Linked DNA regions of Homo sapiens: region 1 is linked to region 2. Evidence: promoter capture Hi-C in 16 types of primary human blood cells and fetal thymus (Javierre and others, 2016). All regions are on one chromosome and are shown on one strand. The core of a region is centred on a gene start or on the middle of the fragment in contact, and the rest is flanking DNA. Distances in the headings are between cores, read along the strand shown. Region 1 holds the start of IFRD1 (interferon related developmental regulator 1). Region 2 holds the start of COG5 (component of oligomeric golgi complex 5).

Region 1 (7,449 bases), core at 1,656-4,155, 4.9 Mb after region 2:
TGCTGAAGCAATGAGACATTTGTCACAATAATGTCTGTCAAAGTGGCTGGCCATAAACGCTCCAGTACCACATTCATCTGAAGAGCACTCTAGATGAAGGCGACTTATTTTGCCATTCTCATCCACCTTACAGTATTTCAGGACAGCCAGCTTCACCTTCTTTCGCTTACGCTTATTCTTCTCAGGAGTGGTGTAAACATTCAGTAAAAAATAATTGAATATCTAAGTGCCACGTACTGTTCCAGTACTGAAGATACAATAGTGAATAAAACAGACAGGATCTCTTTCTTGTAATTCTAACATTCTAGTAGAAGAGACAAAAAATAATTGGGCCAAAAAATATTAAGTAGTGCGATGTACTTTGGGAGAATATAAGCAGGGTGGAGGTGCTGGTGGTAGGTGGGGTGAGGATGCGACCTTAGAATGGAGAGTGGAAGAGTGGGAGAGTAGGAAGGCCTCTTCAGGTAGGTGTCATTTAAGCTCAGATCTGAATGGCAAGTGTGGGAAGCTCGGGTTGATCATATCAGGCAGAGGGAGGAGCTGTTGCAAGTCTTAAGTGGGGAATGAACTTTGTGTTTTTAAGTTGGCAAAGACCAGTGTGGCTGAAATGCAGTGGATGAAAAGAGGGGCAGGAGATGCAATATGGAGAGAGAGGTATGTGCCAAACCTAGGTAAGGCCTGGAAGCTTGAGAGTGGTGAGCTCAGAGACCTGCTAAGAGTTTGATATGGCATTAGGAAAGGGACTGTGTTAGGTGATGAGAGAAGTGATTTGGGAGATACAGGCAAGAAACAGATTCCGACAAGCCCTACATGGAGGATCTGGGAGGTATTATTTCTGCTCAGTGCTATGCAGAGAATCCCAAGGAGGCCATGACTAAAGTCATTCAAAGAAAACCTTTCATGTTTATGCCTTCAAGGAAGGTATGAATACTGAATCTTATCTTTATTACTTGTTCTTGAATCAAAGTCATCAATGAGAACTTAGAACTCTTCTCAGGCGTGCCCCTAAATTCTGATTAATGTAAGATTTATTTTTGCAACATTTGAGTATACTTACCCTGATGGTGATTTCTGTTCCATGGAATGTTAAACTAAGTTGTTTTGTAAAAGAAGAATATATTTTACAATGACTTAAATGTTGAGGCAGCACATAATGTCATGTTGGTAACAAATATGTGATATTTATTTATTAGAGCATGAGAGTATTTTGCCTCCTGATATATGAGGCAGACATTGCTATTTGTCTACCTTATATCCATGGTTTCCCCTTCATTCTTAACAACAGAACCTCAATTTTGTTTGCGAATGAGCCCAACCGAAAATACTTGTGTTCTAAACTTCCTTGCAGCTAGGGATCATCCTGTGACACAGTTCTGGTCAACATGTAGGTGGAAGTTTCTAGGGAGTGTGGTCTTTCCTGAAGAAAAAGGCAAAGTCTGGAGAAAGCCCTTTTTCCTGTTCCCTTTCGTGCTTCCCCTTCCTTTCTGGTATTTGTAATCATTTAGTGACTTGATGTTTGGAGTCTTCTAATTTCTTTAAACATATTGCAAAATAGTATGTGGAGCTGAAGACCACTGTCCCATGAGGAGGTGGGCTACATCTTTGTGATGTTTGCACTGGTCTGGAGCTAAACTGCAGGCATAAAACTATAGTAAGGTAATTTTATCAAAAGTACAGTATCTCTCAGAATTCATTATACTGAAGGCTGTACTTCATGTTTGTAGTGATAAGTAGTTTCTCCCTTTCCTTGATCCAGAATGTATGTATGTAGTGATACATAAGTTTCTCCCTTTCCTTGATCCAGAAAAATCTAGTCAACAATTATTTCTTAAATGTTCATTTAACTATATATATACTGACTATAATTTCAATTTCAAATGTAACACTTCCTTTTGTGCCATGAGGGATACAGCAAGATTTTTTCAAGTTCCTGGGCCTGTAGATTTAAAAAAAAAAAAAAAAGAAAGAAAAGTAAGAAAAAAAGAAAAGAAATTAAAAAGAGGAAAAGATTTTTGTTCTTGGGAAGCTGATAATTTCATGAGATGACAGATGTATTCACAAATAAATGTAAAACAAGTACGTATATGATGTGGTGGGCCATGGCCAGGCCTGCCGCAGAACGACTAAGTGGATGTGAAGGGATTTGGAAAAAAAGCCCCTGCCCCAAATGCAAAGCACACGTTTCCAGGGCTGGAACCTGGATGTTAGGCCTAGGTGATGTGACTCCAGAGTGGCAAAACTGTTGCCTTATGTATAGTATAAATTGTTTCTGGATGGTGAAGAGCCTAGGGTTATAAAAGTTATTGAGTCTACAATTCTGTGAGACATCTCATTCTGTATAGGCCCTGTCACTGAGTTGCAGTGTGCCTCTAGATACAAGGAGTCAGTGTGAGCTGCTTCCTCCCCCACAACCTGCCTCCGTATTTGGTTTCTGTGCTCTGTGCAGTTTACTGGCTGCTTCAGGATTAAACAAAGTAAAAGCAACCCTGAAATGTTGCCCATTAAATAGCATCTTTGAGTAGGCCGTGTGGGGAGGTAATAAGTGCCATTAGGGCATTATTAGGATGAGTGTCAAAGAGTTGTGAGGAGGAAGAAACTTCTGGCTGGAGGCTTCAGGAAGGTGGCAGCATGAGCTACATCTTGAACGGTGGATAAAATTTCTTAAGGTGAAGATGGGAGGAAAGGCATTACAAGAACAGGAAAGAATATGAATGAGGAAATGGAGGTAGGAGAAGAGAGCCGTGTATTGGAAATGAAAAGCAGTCCTGTTTGGCTGAAGAACAAGAACTGTATGAGGAAGCAGTGAAAGATGAGGCTGGAAAGGGAGTCAGGGCCAGGCTAAAAGGGTTGGCATTTAAAGTTAGTCATGGGAGCCATGGAATGTTTTTGAGCAACTATTAAAGCAGGTGGATTAGTAAAATAGGGAACACACAAATAAATCTGGCAGCATTACTGTGCATGAAACATGGATGAAAAGACTGGGAGATCGCTTAAAATGCCCAGGCATGAACTGAGGTCACATGTGATCACAGAATAGGACAGGAATTTAAGAGTGCTATTTTAAAACTAATTGCTTTGCGGGTGGGGAGGGGGTGGTGCATCAAAGGGAAAAAAGACTATGAATTTGAGTTTTGGAATTTAACATATGGGAGGATAATAAATAGTACAGTGAACAAAGGGAAGACAGGAAGAAGGAAATATAGTATTCGTTTCAGAGATGTTGGGTTGAGGCACAAGTGGAACATTCTGGTGGAAATTTGCTACAGGCAATTGAAAATAGAATAGAGCTCAGCTGAGAGGTGGAGTGGCGGATGACTCACCTACATTGAGGTGAGTCAGGGACTTTGATCTGTCATAAGCATAGTATATGAACCTAATAACAGGCTCTAAATACTAGACAAATGTCCTAACAAGGAAGACAGAGATCTAGGAGTGCCTTGAGAAAAAAGGCAGCACTGCGATTATTGATCTGTATAACTTGTGTTTGTTTTACCAGCTGTGAAATTCTCAGAACTGGCAGGTAGTATTGTCAAGGGACACATTCTTGTATAGAAACCCACAACGCTGAATCGTCATATATTCCTAGTCTAGAATCTGAGATATACACGAACTCCACAACTAAGTAGACGAAAGCATCCCTTTTTTTGGGGGGGGGGGGGGATGGGGGGCACATAACCCTGAACCACGGTCCAATTACAGGTACAGTACTGATGATGGCTTAAGTAGTTCATGGAACTAGTTAAAACTAAAACCATGGAAATGTTACCCAGGAGAGGTAAGGCTGCGTGCCTGGCAGGTGCCGCAGGGAAGTAGGGGAAAGGTTAAGGAGAACACCAGCCTCCGGAGAAAGAGAAGCAAAGGTGATTGCATAGCTGCCAGCTGGAAGCCGACTCTCGTCATAGGGCATACTCGCCCCACTGTGCATCGCCGGTGCCTACCTCACCCAGTTCCAAGGCGGGGGCGCGCCGAGGCAGGGGTGGGGTCACCAGGAGAAAAGCAAGTGGGCAGAAAAGCCCGTTGGGAAGAGACGGCTGGGAGGAGGCCCCGGCCCCAGCCTTACTACGTTTCCCAGAATTCAGTGAGGCCACGAAGACAGGCTCCCTGGGCGCGGACGGAAGACTGGCCGCATGGGATTTGTAGGTAGGATCCGCGCCCCGCCCGACGGAGGCGTCCAGTGGGGAGGTGTGCAGGGATTGGTTGGGAAGCGCTCAAGCCCCGCCCACAGAGTGACGTCAGGTGGCGGTATTGCTACTTAAGGCGTCGTGGCCTCCCCTGCCCCGCCTTAGCTCCCGCGCTAGAGAGAAACATGTATCGTTTTCGATCACAGCTCTTCACGGGGATTTCTGCTGCCGCCACCGCCCACTCTTACCCCCGCCGCTTCTCGACTCTGTTGTTAGCCGAAGACTCGCCTCTCAGCCGCCCGCCGCACAGACGCACGAGTAAAAAGTGCAGCTCCATCGGCTGATCCTCGCTAAGCTCCGACTCTGGGCGGCACCGGGCGTCCCACGATGCCGAAGAACAAGAAGCGGAACACTCCCCACCGCGGTAGCAGTGCTGGCGGCGGCGGGTCAGGAGCAGCCGCAGCGACGGCGGCGACAGCAGGTAAGGGGTATCCCCGCCGCCGGCATCCCAGTTGCCGGCCAGGCTGGCGAGTCTTCCATGCTTCGGCACGGTGGGAGTTGTAGTTCTTTCTCTGATGTACACATTTGCATTTCCAGGGTGCGTGGTTTGGCTACTGAACTACAATTCCCAGCGTGCCCTGGGCGCTGCTCCTCGCGCGATTTAGATCTGGCGTGCGAACCGGACTCTTGGGCACCGGCCGTGGGGGCAGGGAGGAACGGGTCCTTGGGCCTGAGAGTGTGTCGGGACAGGGGCTGACCGGGAGCTGGGCGGGAAAGGAACCATTGTCAGAGTTCCTTTCTCGGCGGCGATCTCGCCCGATCTCTCCCCGACCACGGGTGGGGAAGAACGGGGAGTTGAGCCCGTGCCGTCACTGGCCGCCTTTGACACCCTGGCTCCAACATGGAGCTCCTGGGATGCCAGACGTCCGGCGGGTTTGGACGGGCTCTTGCGTCACGCGGCCTGGGCCTTGCGCGGTGGGCCCGGGGTGACGCAGAGGCGCTGGGGAAGCTTTCCGTCTCGCAGGTCCACCTGGCCAGGCGAAGGCGTCGGAGGCGGGGGGACCACTTTCTCCCCCCTAGGCTGTGCTCCTTCCCCTAACTGGCACCTGCAGAAGCCCTGAACCTCTAGCACCTCTGCGACCACCCGAGGCGACCTCCTGCTCACGGGGGGAAGAAACGCGTTCTCCTTTGTGCTGCATTCTATATGTTCTCTGCAGTGAGCCCCAGAGAGGCAGGGTGGTGAGGAGCTTAGGTTGCAGTTGGCTAAAAGTTGAGGTTATTGTGCCCTCGCTACGAAGTTGAAACTTTTCCTGGGTGGGATGAGTAGGTGCTTAACTGAACTTATGGTTTTCTACTTATTATATGGTTAAGAAAAAGGATTCCAATTGGAATTGGAAGGCCCTTCTAGGAGAGACCCCAATAAACTCAAATCGAGTATTAAATAACCTGGGTAATATTTTATTTAGAAATTTAAACAGGAGTTAAATATTGGAGTATTCTCCGACGTTATCACACTGGAACTATTAGCCATCAGGTATTTTTGGACACAGTTGCCCCTCTGCCACGGCTGCCACTCAGAATGATATGCCTTTGTTCACAAGAAAAGTAAATATGGGGTTATGTTGTTAAAGGTTATTGGAAACTGGCATTTAAAAAAGCTCAAAAACTCGTGATCATGTATTAAACATTTAATAATTGACCATAGGGAGGGATTCTTAAAACAGCAATTTTTTACATTTTTTAGGTGCCTCTTTATTTTGAATGCTCTCCATGTTGATGAAATTCATTCTTTATCAAGATGTAAAATATGTAATTTATTGTGGCCTCTGGTTGCTCTATGTGAATTGAGGATACTTTTTTTTTTTTTGTTAAGGGAAAGAGGGAGTCTGGCTCTGTCGCCCAGGCTGGAGTGCGGTGTGGTGTGATCATAGCTCACTGCAACCTCTTAACTCCTGGGCTCAAGCAGCTCTCCCTCCTCAGCCTCCTGTAGCTAGGACTACAGGCATGTGACACCATTCCTGGCTATTTTTTACATTTTTTGTGGAGACAAGGTCTATGTTGGCCAGGCTGGTCACGAGTCCCTCGTCCCCAGGGATCTTCCTGCCTAAGCCTCCCACAATGCTGGGACGGTGCCTGGTCTGAGGATATTTCTTACCACTGTGTTTCAGCTTTTCCTCATCTGAATCAAACATTTGAATTCTTTCTAGAAGGTATTTATTTTATTCTATTACCCTTTTGTTGATGAAATGGAAAAGTTTGAAAGCTAAAGTTTGAAAGTTATAATGATGTTAGTAATGGCCTAGATCACGCACAAACCTTTAATCCCGTCTAAAGTTTCTGGGCAAGCCTCCTTCCCTCTTTGTGCTTATAGTACCTATACAGGCCTCTGGTGGCTGTATGGGGATTGCCTTTTAAATTTTGCTTCAGGGCTCATTTGTGACCTTTCATCAGCTTTATTGCTGCTACCTTTTCACTATTTTAGTAGAAAAGATCCATTTCATCACTGAATTTTAGCATATGTAAACAAGTGGAAAATAATTCTTTGATTAATTTATAACACAATACATGCTTTGAATATCTTTGGAAGTGTGTGCTAGAACTTGTTAACTGTGGTTACCTCAGAAGTGGAGCTGGGGAAAGGTATGGGGGTGAGATTTACTTTTTAAAACTTTAACTTGGTCCTATGTGAATGTTTTACTTGTTTAATAAACAATGAATAAATAATAGTTGAGTAGAAGAGATGGAAAATTACACAAACTTTTGCTTACTTAACAAGCCACTTACCTAACTAGTATTTTTAAATGACATCTAAAAGAAATGGGATTCAAATGAGGTCTCCACTATGTAACCAAATTGTCATTATTACTTTAATGAGTTTTCTATTTAAACTCTTTATTTTTTTTATGTTAGTGGAGAGTTTTAGGAAGCTAATAAAATTGACTTCTTTTATACAGGTATGTCATAGCACTTAATTTAAAGAGAATATTTTTAAGAAAGAACAAAACCTTGTTAGTAAGCCCTCTAGAAATAAGTACTTTATGTGCCTAGAGTGCCATCTCTTTCGTGGTACTTAGGATCACAGTGTGGGTGGGTGAGTTTGACCTAAATATCAGGCATTCATACAGGGTTCTTTTTCTTGATACATATATATGTGTATTTTTTTTCTTTCCCTCGAATCTTAGAAATCATTAATACTGATGAGTTAAGGGAGCAGAGTAAGAGCTGCATAGGAGGAATACTCTTAGAAATAGGCTATGAAAAAGAAAAACTGTGAATTGACTTGTGAATAAATGTTAATAAAATTAATCAGATGACACTCATCTGTTGC
Region 2 (6,567 bases), core at 3,025-5,524:
TAAAATGTAGTGGAATGAAAGAAGGAAACTGCTACTTTGGCTGCTTTTAAGTCTGAGAACCACATTTCCTTCTGATTTGCCAAGTGCTTCTCAGAATTAAGAGTCCTGTCAGCCAGACAAATGAAAAAAGCCATTCCAAGCAAAGGGAAGGTTTAGCAGTGGCAAATGCCATGGCATATTTTGAGAAACAAGGGGAATACTGATTTCAGTGTGTCTAAATCATAGCACATGTATATTGGACAGAAATGGTAAAGAATGACAGATGTGGTTCCAAAGGTTGGAGCGCAGTTTGAAAAGAGGTTTGTAAGACATTTGAAATGTTTAACCATATCTCATTTAACCCAAGAAATTGCACTATCAGCTTTATGTTACAGAACAATAATCCTGGCAGCTGTATAGAGGATGATGGAAAAAGGATTAGTCACACAGCAATGTGCTGAAGTTGCCTCTTATTGGCTCTTGAGCACAGACTGTTACATTTTCAGGAATTCTGTGAGCCAGTTGACCTTTCACACAGATATCTTAAAATCTACGATGGTGAGAGTATTTACACCATGGTAATCAGCAAACACTACAAAAATCAGGGCTTTTTCTATTTTCCCACAAAGCCAATTAACCAATACACCCAAGAAATAGAACCACAGAGGCCAGTAAAGTACTATGTTAACAGCCTAAGACATAATGAAGGCCCGACTAAGACCTGAATAAGTGGCACTAAGAATGTCAAAGTGACAAATTTGACAAATATTCACACTGCACAGGATGTAGGACTTAGTGACAAGCTGAAAATGGGTGATTAGGTAGAACAAACAAGGATTCCCAAATTTCTGGATTAAGCAACTGATACAGGAAATTTAGTTTTACACTAACTTAGACCACTAGACACTGAATATACCAAGATGAACATAAACTTCTGCCTCCAAGGAATTCATAATTTACAAGGGGAACAAGCACACATTTACCTAACAACATAGTAAACACAGATAACAGAAACTACCAGAGGAAAAGATTAGGAGAGAAGAACAGAAAAAGTGAATTCATTTCATTTTTTCATATGTAAACCTTGTACTATTTGTTCATATGTAGGTTTTCATGTGTATTATAGAACTAGCACTGCTTGTTTACTATCAAAATAGAAATGTCCATACAGGTTATGGAATGGCATATCATAAAAAAATTAAGATAGAAATGTCCAGTAGGCAGTTAAAAATATAGTTTTATAATTCAGAAGACAGGTAAGGAGCATACTGAAACCACAGACAAGACCAGATGATTTAGGAAAAAAAAGTTTTAGAATGCACAAAAAGGCAGGAAAATGAGGAAGATAGGAAAGTGGGGGGTGGACAGAGAAAATGAAAGCAATCAAAGAGACTAAAGAGTGCTCAGGGAGAAAGAGAAACAAAAAAGAATGGCAAAAGCCAAAAGAAGGGATAAAGAAAGTAAGTATTAGTATTGTCATAGAGCTTACAAAGATCAAACACAACGGGATGTGGCATTTGAGGGCTGACAGCCTTTAAAGAGATGAATTATATAATGCTTCTCTTTTATAGTTTCCTCATTCCCATAGAGGGCATATCAGAAACACCTCACCAATTTTCATACTATGCATCTGTGCTCACCAAGCCTATCAATCCGATACTCTGTCATTGGCCAAATCCCCGATATAGTGAATCAAAGTTTCTGCTGGAAATGCTTAATTCCTCAGGAATGTTGGGGGTGGAGGGGCAACAGAGACCGCTTAATTCAGAACAAACTGAACTGACAAGTATCTACAGGAACCTGGAAAAGAGCACCTAGAGAATTAAGAATTTTTAAAAAGCACGGCACCCATAAACCGCATGAGGAAAGTATTTCAAGAAAGGAATCAAATGTTATTACAAGTTAAAGGACCAAAAAAGTGTCCATTTGTCGTATGTGCAAGAAAGTCATTGAAAACCTTGCAAAGTTACTTCAATGGCATAGATTGAGGGTGACTGAGTCCCCAGGAAACAGGAAGAAAAAATCCAGAGCAAAGTAGGAGGCACTATCCTTAGAACGGAGCAGAGACTCGGCCGGGCGTGGTGGCTCACGCCTGTAATCCCAGCACTCTGGGAGGCCAAGGCAGGCAGATCACGAGGTCAGGAGATCGAGACCATCCTGGCTAACACGGTGAAACCCCGTCTCTACTAAAAATACAAAAAATTAGCTAGGCATAGTGATGGGCGCTTGTAGTCCCAGCTTCTCAGGAGGCTGAGCCAGGAGAATGGCGTGAACCCCGGAGGCAGAGCTTGCAGTGAGCCGAGACTGCGCCACTGCACTCCAGCCTGGGCAACAGCGCGAGACTCCGTCTCAAAAAAAAAAAAGAAAGAAAGAAAGAAAGGAGCAGAGGCTCCACTTCCGTTGCAATTGAAAAGGCAAGGGAAAAAAGGTGCAACAGATGGTTATACGTTGAGGTTAAATTCATAGGTTTGATGGGCAAGAAATGGAGAAAGTTCACATCTGATGGATCCTCTTTTTCTCCCCAGGGAAGCTTAAAGTCATTTGTTGAGCTTGAAGCGAAAGGTTTGAAAAGGGTAAAGAAGATTTAAACAATCACTGTGGAGAATGGCAGAGAACCAAGGAGGAAAATACAGAAGGCAGAACTGAAGAGTATTTACCGTCCAAGAACTGATTACAATTCCTGAAATACATCCTACTGAAACATATATCCAATGTTCCACTGTTCACCTGGGGAAGTCCTGTCTACAGTTTAAAACGTCTCCACCTAGAAAGCCTTTTCTGACATTTCCTAACCAGTTTCCAACCCCCAGTTATCATTCTCCTCTGTATTAATGCTCTACTTTATATGCAATCCTACTGCTATCTTACATCACTATATTACAGCACCTACCTTTATAGTCTACAAGATTATTTCCTCTACTAGATGGTGAACTACTTGAGGGCAAAAATTGCACGTGTATCAGGAGCAACTGCAAATATATCAGGGTCTCTGCCTTGTATCTAAAGTTTAAATTCAGTTTAGCCAAGTTTTAGACAGAGACCCGGTCCTAGAGTTTCCAACATGAAATAGTTCAGAAAACATCATTGCTTTTGACAAAAGTACATAAATTATCATGAAAAGGCACGTAATTCAGGATGACAATAAAATATTTAACAGTCAGAGAAAATAAACAATAATTTGGAACTTTATTTCATTTATTACCCACTTCGGTCTTCAAATGTGTGCATGTGCTTCTAACTGCGATGATGAATTTAAAAAACATTCTGCACCTACTGTATGCAAGATACTGCTATTCACACTGTGGGATATTAAAAAAAGTTTGCAATACAGAAGAGATTAAAACAAGTATACAAATGATTTTAGTACAAGGTAGAATGCGATGGCCACTAGAGAAAAAATTAAGAACAGGTGAGAAGGGCTTTATTTTTATGCTTATAAATGTGAACTTTATTCTGAAGGATAAGAGATTCGGGACATGGTAACTGGATTGACACAACTGAATATGCTTTTCAAGTATATTATATCTAACTTTTCTTATTTTGGGCAACTTCTCTCCAAACTGACTAGCAATAAAATCTGACTGCTAGATTCTGTACAAATGGTTAATCCCAACCTGAACAAATGTCTCAAACCCTCCCCCACGTGTCACTGTAGATAACTGCCTCATAAAGGAGGAAAAAAAAAACCAGCCTGTAAGAGGGGTCACCTGTACAGTCCATTTGTTAAAGGAGTAAGCGTTTCCAGCTCTACTTTAAAACAAGGCCCTATTTCATTATGCGTCTGCCGTCTGTTCTAGAGCTTACACTTTTGAAGAGCTCGAACGCTACACCCCTTCGTCAAGAACTGCGGCAGCAGCCGGTGGCTGCCAACGCGGTCCACAGGGTTTGGGCTCCCGAAACTTCAGGGAAGCTGGAGGCATGGGGGGGGGGGGGGTCGAGTTGAAATGAGGAACACACAGAAACCAAGTGTCCCCAAGACTCCAGAAAAGAGGGAGCCAGTCCCAGAGTAAATAGGTTGGCTAGAACAGTACCCAAGCCAGGGGGCCGGGCGGAGGGGAGTGGTCACGTCCAGACTGGAAAACTTTCTGCAAAGCAACGGGTTGGGTCCACCTCGCTGTCCAGGTGCGGAGCAGCGCAGACCCCCAACCCCACGACCTGGTCAGACCCCGTCTCCTTACCGTCCTGCAGAAGTTCCCGGACTGTAGCTGCAGCCGCTCCAGAGCCTCGAGCTCCGAGGCCAGCTACAGCGACGCTGCCGCCGCCACCTTCCATGTTGGCAGGTGCCGGGTTGATGTCGTCAGCAGCAGAACGGCTCCGCCCAGGTGGTGACGCAGAATCCCGGCGCCGCCCGCCCACCCAGCCCATGGCTCCAGGCCCACCTGGCGAACTGACTCTCAGCCCGCGCCTGGGCTAAGCCTGGCTAGGAGCCGCGCAGGTACTCGAGCAGTGGGCGCCCAGGGTCCGAGTGCTCTGCGCCCAGCGCACCGAGGGAGCCAAGGCCGTCGGGCCGGCGCTTTCAGCTGTCTCTCGCAGCAGCTCAGGGCCGCGCCCCCTGGGCTGGCGTCGTGCCCTAGCCAAGGAGAAGGTGGGCACCGGAACGTGGCCGCAGCGCTTATCTGTGAAGCAAGTATTAAACCTCAGAACAGGGGCCGCGCGGCGTAAGGCAGGAGAGCAGAGCGGAGGTTTCAGGGAGCTTCGTTTGCCCTCCACACTCACAAGAGTCACGCGTTAGTTGCTACACAGCTTTATCTGTTCCACGCCTTGATTGGCACTCCTGGGGTAATAAAAGCCCGCAGGAAATGCTTGGGAAGAAAAGTTGCTGGGGATGAACAGTGAAGAGAATTAGGGAGAGTCGATGAAGAAGGAAGTCTGAACCATAAAAGGACCAATAAAACTCACTGTCTCTACCCTCCTTCCTTCCCATGAGACCTTTGACCTTTTGCCTTTTCTACTTCTTCCTCAGTTTCAGTCACGTGCCAGACTTTTTCTTAATTACAAACTGATAGATGGTCCACATCTCAACTAACAGTATTGACGCTGTAAGAGCATCAGGTTGGTTCCCATTGTATCTTCTTTACTAATACGTTCGCGTTTTTGACCTAGATTTCTTTCTTCTAAGATAAATACTGATAAATTAACAGGGTCAGGCAACCACAAGTATGCAAGACAGTCTTAAGCTTCTTCGCAAAAAGAAGCTGGAAGATGACTTTTTCATTTTGTACAGTAGGTATGTATCCAGGAAACCAATTTTATCCAGTTCCAGAGCTACGTGGTTTTCTACATTCTGTTTCAAAAAGGTGCTATTACTTATCCTGTGCTTATCGCTGTTCTAAGTATTTTATAACTCAATGCATTTCATACTCATAACACCTCAGGTAAGCAAGTCTTATGCTACACTGCATTATGCTCTCTTTGTCTCAGAGGATTTTCCCTAGTATGTAAGATCTTAGTCATGATGGGAATAGGGGTGATTCATTCATTACTTGTGAATTAGGAATTGTTTTTCCTTCCTTGGCTTTATTCCCCCCAGTGGAAGATTTTAGAAGAGTGAGTAATATTCATTCATACAGCGAAAGTTTTGACCCCTCTACTCTGCATGCTCTCATGAGTTTACAAACATAAGACTCAATCCATATTCTAAAAGGAGTTAATAGGTAAGGTAGGAACCCATTTAAACAAACAATTGTACCAGGTGCTTTGGAATCTTTGGATTTACTTATTCCAGTAATTCCAAGCTTAGCTGCACATTGAAATCACCTGAAGAGCTTTAATAAAAACACTGATGCCTGCATCCTGAGCCCAGACGTTTGGATTTAATTGGTCTAGGGTATGGCTTGGGCATGCTAATTCTTAAAAGCTCCTCGGGTCATTGTAGTGTACAACTAAGGTAGAAAGCTACTGATTGTTTTGTTTTGTTGAGTTGGGGTCTAGCTCTGTTACCCAGGCTGGAGTGCAGTGGCAGGATCGTGGCTCACTGCAGCCTCAACCTCCTGGGCTCAAGGGATCCTCCTGCCCAAGCTTCTGGAGTAGTTGGGATCACAGTCGCTTGCTACCACGCCCAGCTGATTTTTATAATTTTTTTAGAGATGGGGGTCTCACTATATTGCCCAAGCTGGTCTCAAACTCCTGGCCTTAAGCAAGCCTCCCACCTTGGCCTCCCAAAATGCTGAGTTTACAGGTGTGAGCCCAGTCCCCTGAAACCTACTGATTTATTCTTTCAGCAAATAAATATTGAGGCCTTCTGTATGCCATTTACTATGACTGCAGGAGTGGATAAAAATGAAGTAATTCTTGCTAAAATCACTAATGACCTTGTTGCCATTGCGCTTTATTTTTGCCTTACTTTGATGTTTAAGATACCTATCCCCTCCTTCCTTCATAATGGTCTCTCTCGTTTTCTGAGTATCACTCTTTAGGTTTATTCCTCCCAGCTCCAAAGTTCATCTTCAGTCTCTTTTGCTCTCCCCTTTTCCTCTGTTACTTAAATATTGGTGCTTCCAGCGGTTTCTTGCAAGATCCTGACATCCTTAAGTACCTTGGCTATTTTTAATTTCAACTCCTTGCCTAAAGGTTAAAGACTCTAAAGTT

What was found. The method cuts DNA at HindIII sites, captures the fragments that hold promoters and counts their contacts. A CHiCAGO score of 5 or more calls a contact.
Region 1: a fragment that was not itself captured here is called in contact with the fragment with the promoter of COG5 in region 2 in 1 of 17 cell types (fetal thymus); the score reaches 7.9 in fetal thymus.

The regions. Positions count from the first base shown.
Region 1 is chr7:112,446,181-112,453,629 of GRCh38, forward strand. IFRD1 (interferon related developmental regulator 1) reads left to right here and starts at 4,280. Exons shown (of 12, transcript NM_001550.4): 1 at 4,280-4,602. The coding sequence starts at 4,509. LOC128031837 reads left to right here and starts at 4,307. Exons shown (of 1, transcript NM_001414739.1): 1 at 4,307-4,465. The coding sequence starts at 4,307. The coding sequence ends at 4,465. RefSeq lists enhancers at 3,370-4,187, 4,188-5,005, 4,305-4,594, 4,835-4,884, 5,005-5,124. The HindIII fragment of the contact is 4,445 bases long and covers 684-5,128 here.
Region 2 is chr7:107,559,646-107,566,212 of GRCh38, forward strand. It overlaps COG5 (component of oligomeric golgi complex 5), which reads right to left and starts at 4,275. Exons shown (of 22, transcript NM_006348.5): 1 at 4,158-4,275. The coding sequence starts at 4,251. DUS4L-BCAP29 (DUS4L-BCAP29 readthrough) reads left to right here and starts at 4,326. Exons shown (of 13, transcript NR_163941.2): 1 at 4,326-4,564; 2 at 4,943-5,031. It overlaps DUS4L (dihydrouridine synthase 4 like), which reads left to right and starts at 4,326. Exons shown (of 8, transcript NM_181581.3): 1 at 4,326-4,564; 2 at 4,943-5,031. RefSeq lists silencers at 4,154-4,364, 4,403-4,502 and enhancers at 4,203-4,322, 4,853-6,052. The HindIII fragment of the contact is 2,647 bases long and covers 2,508-5,154 here.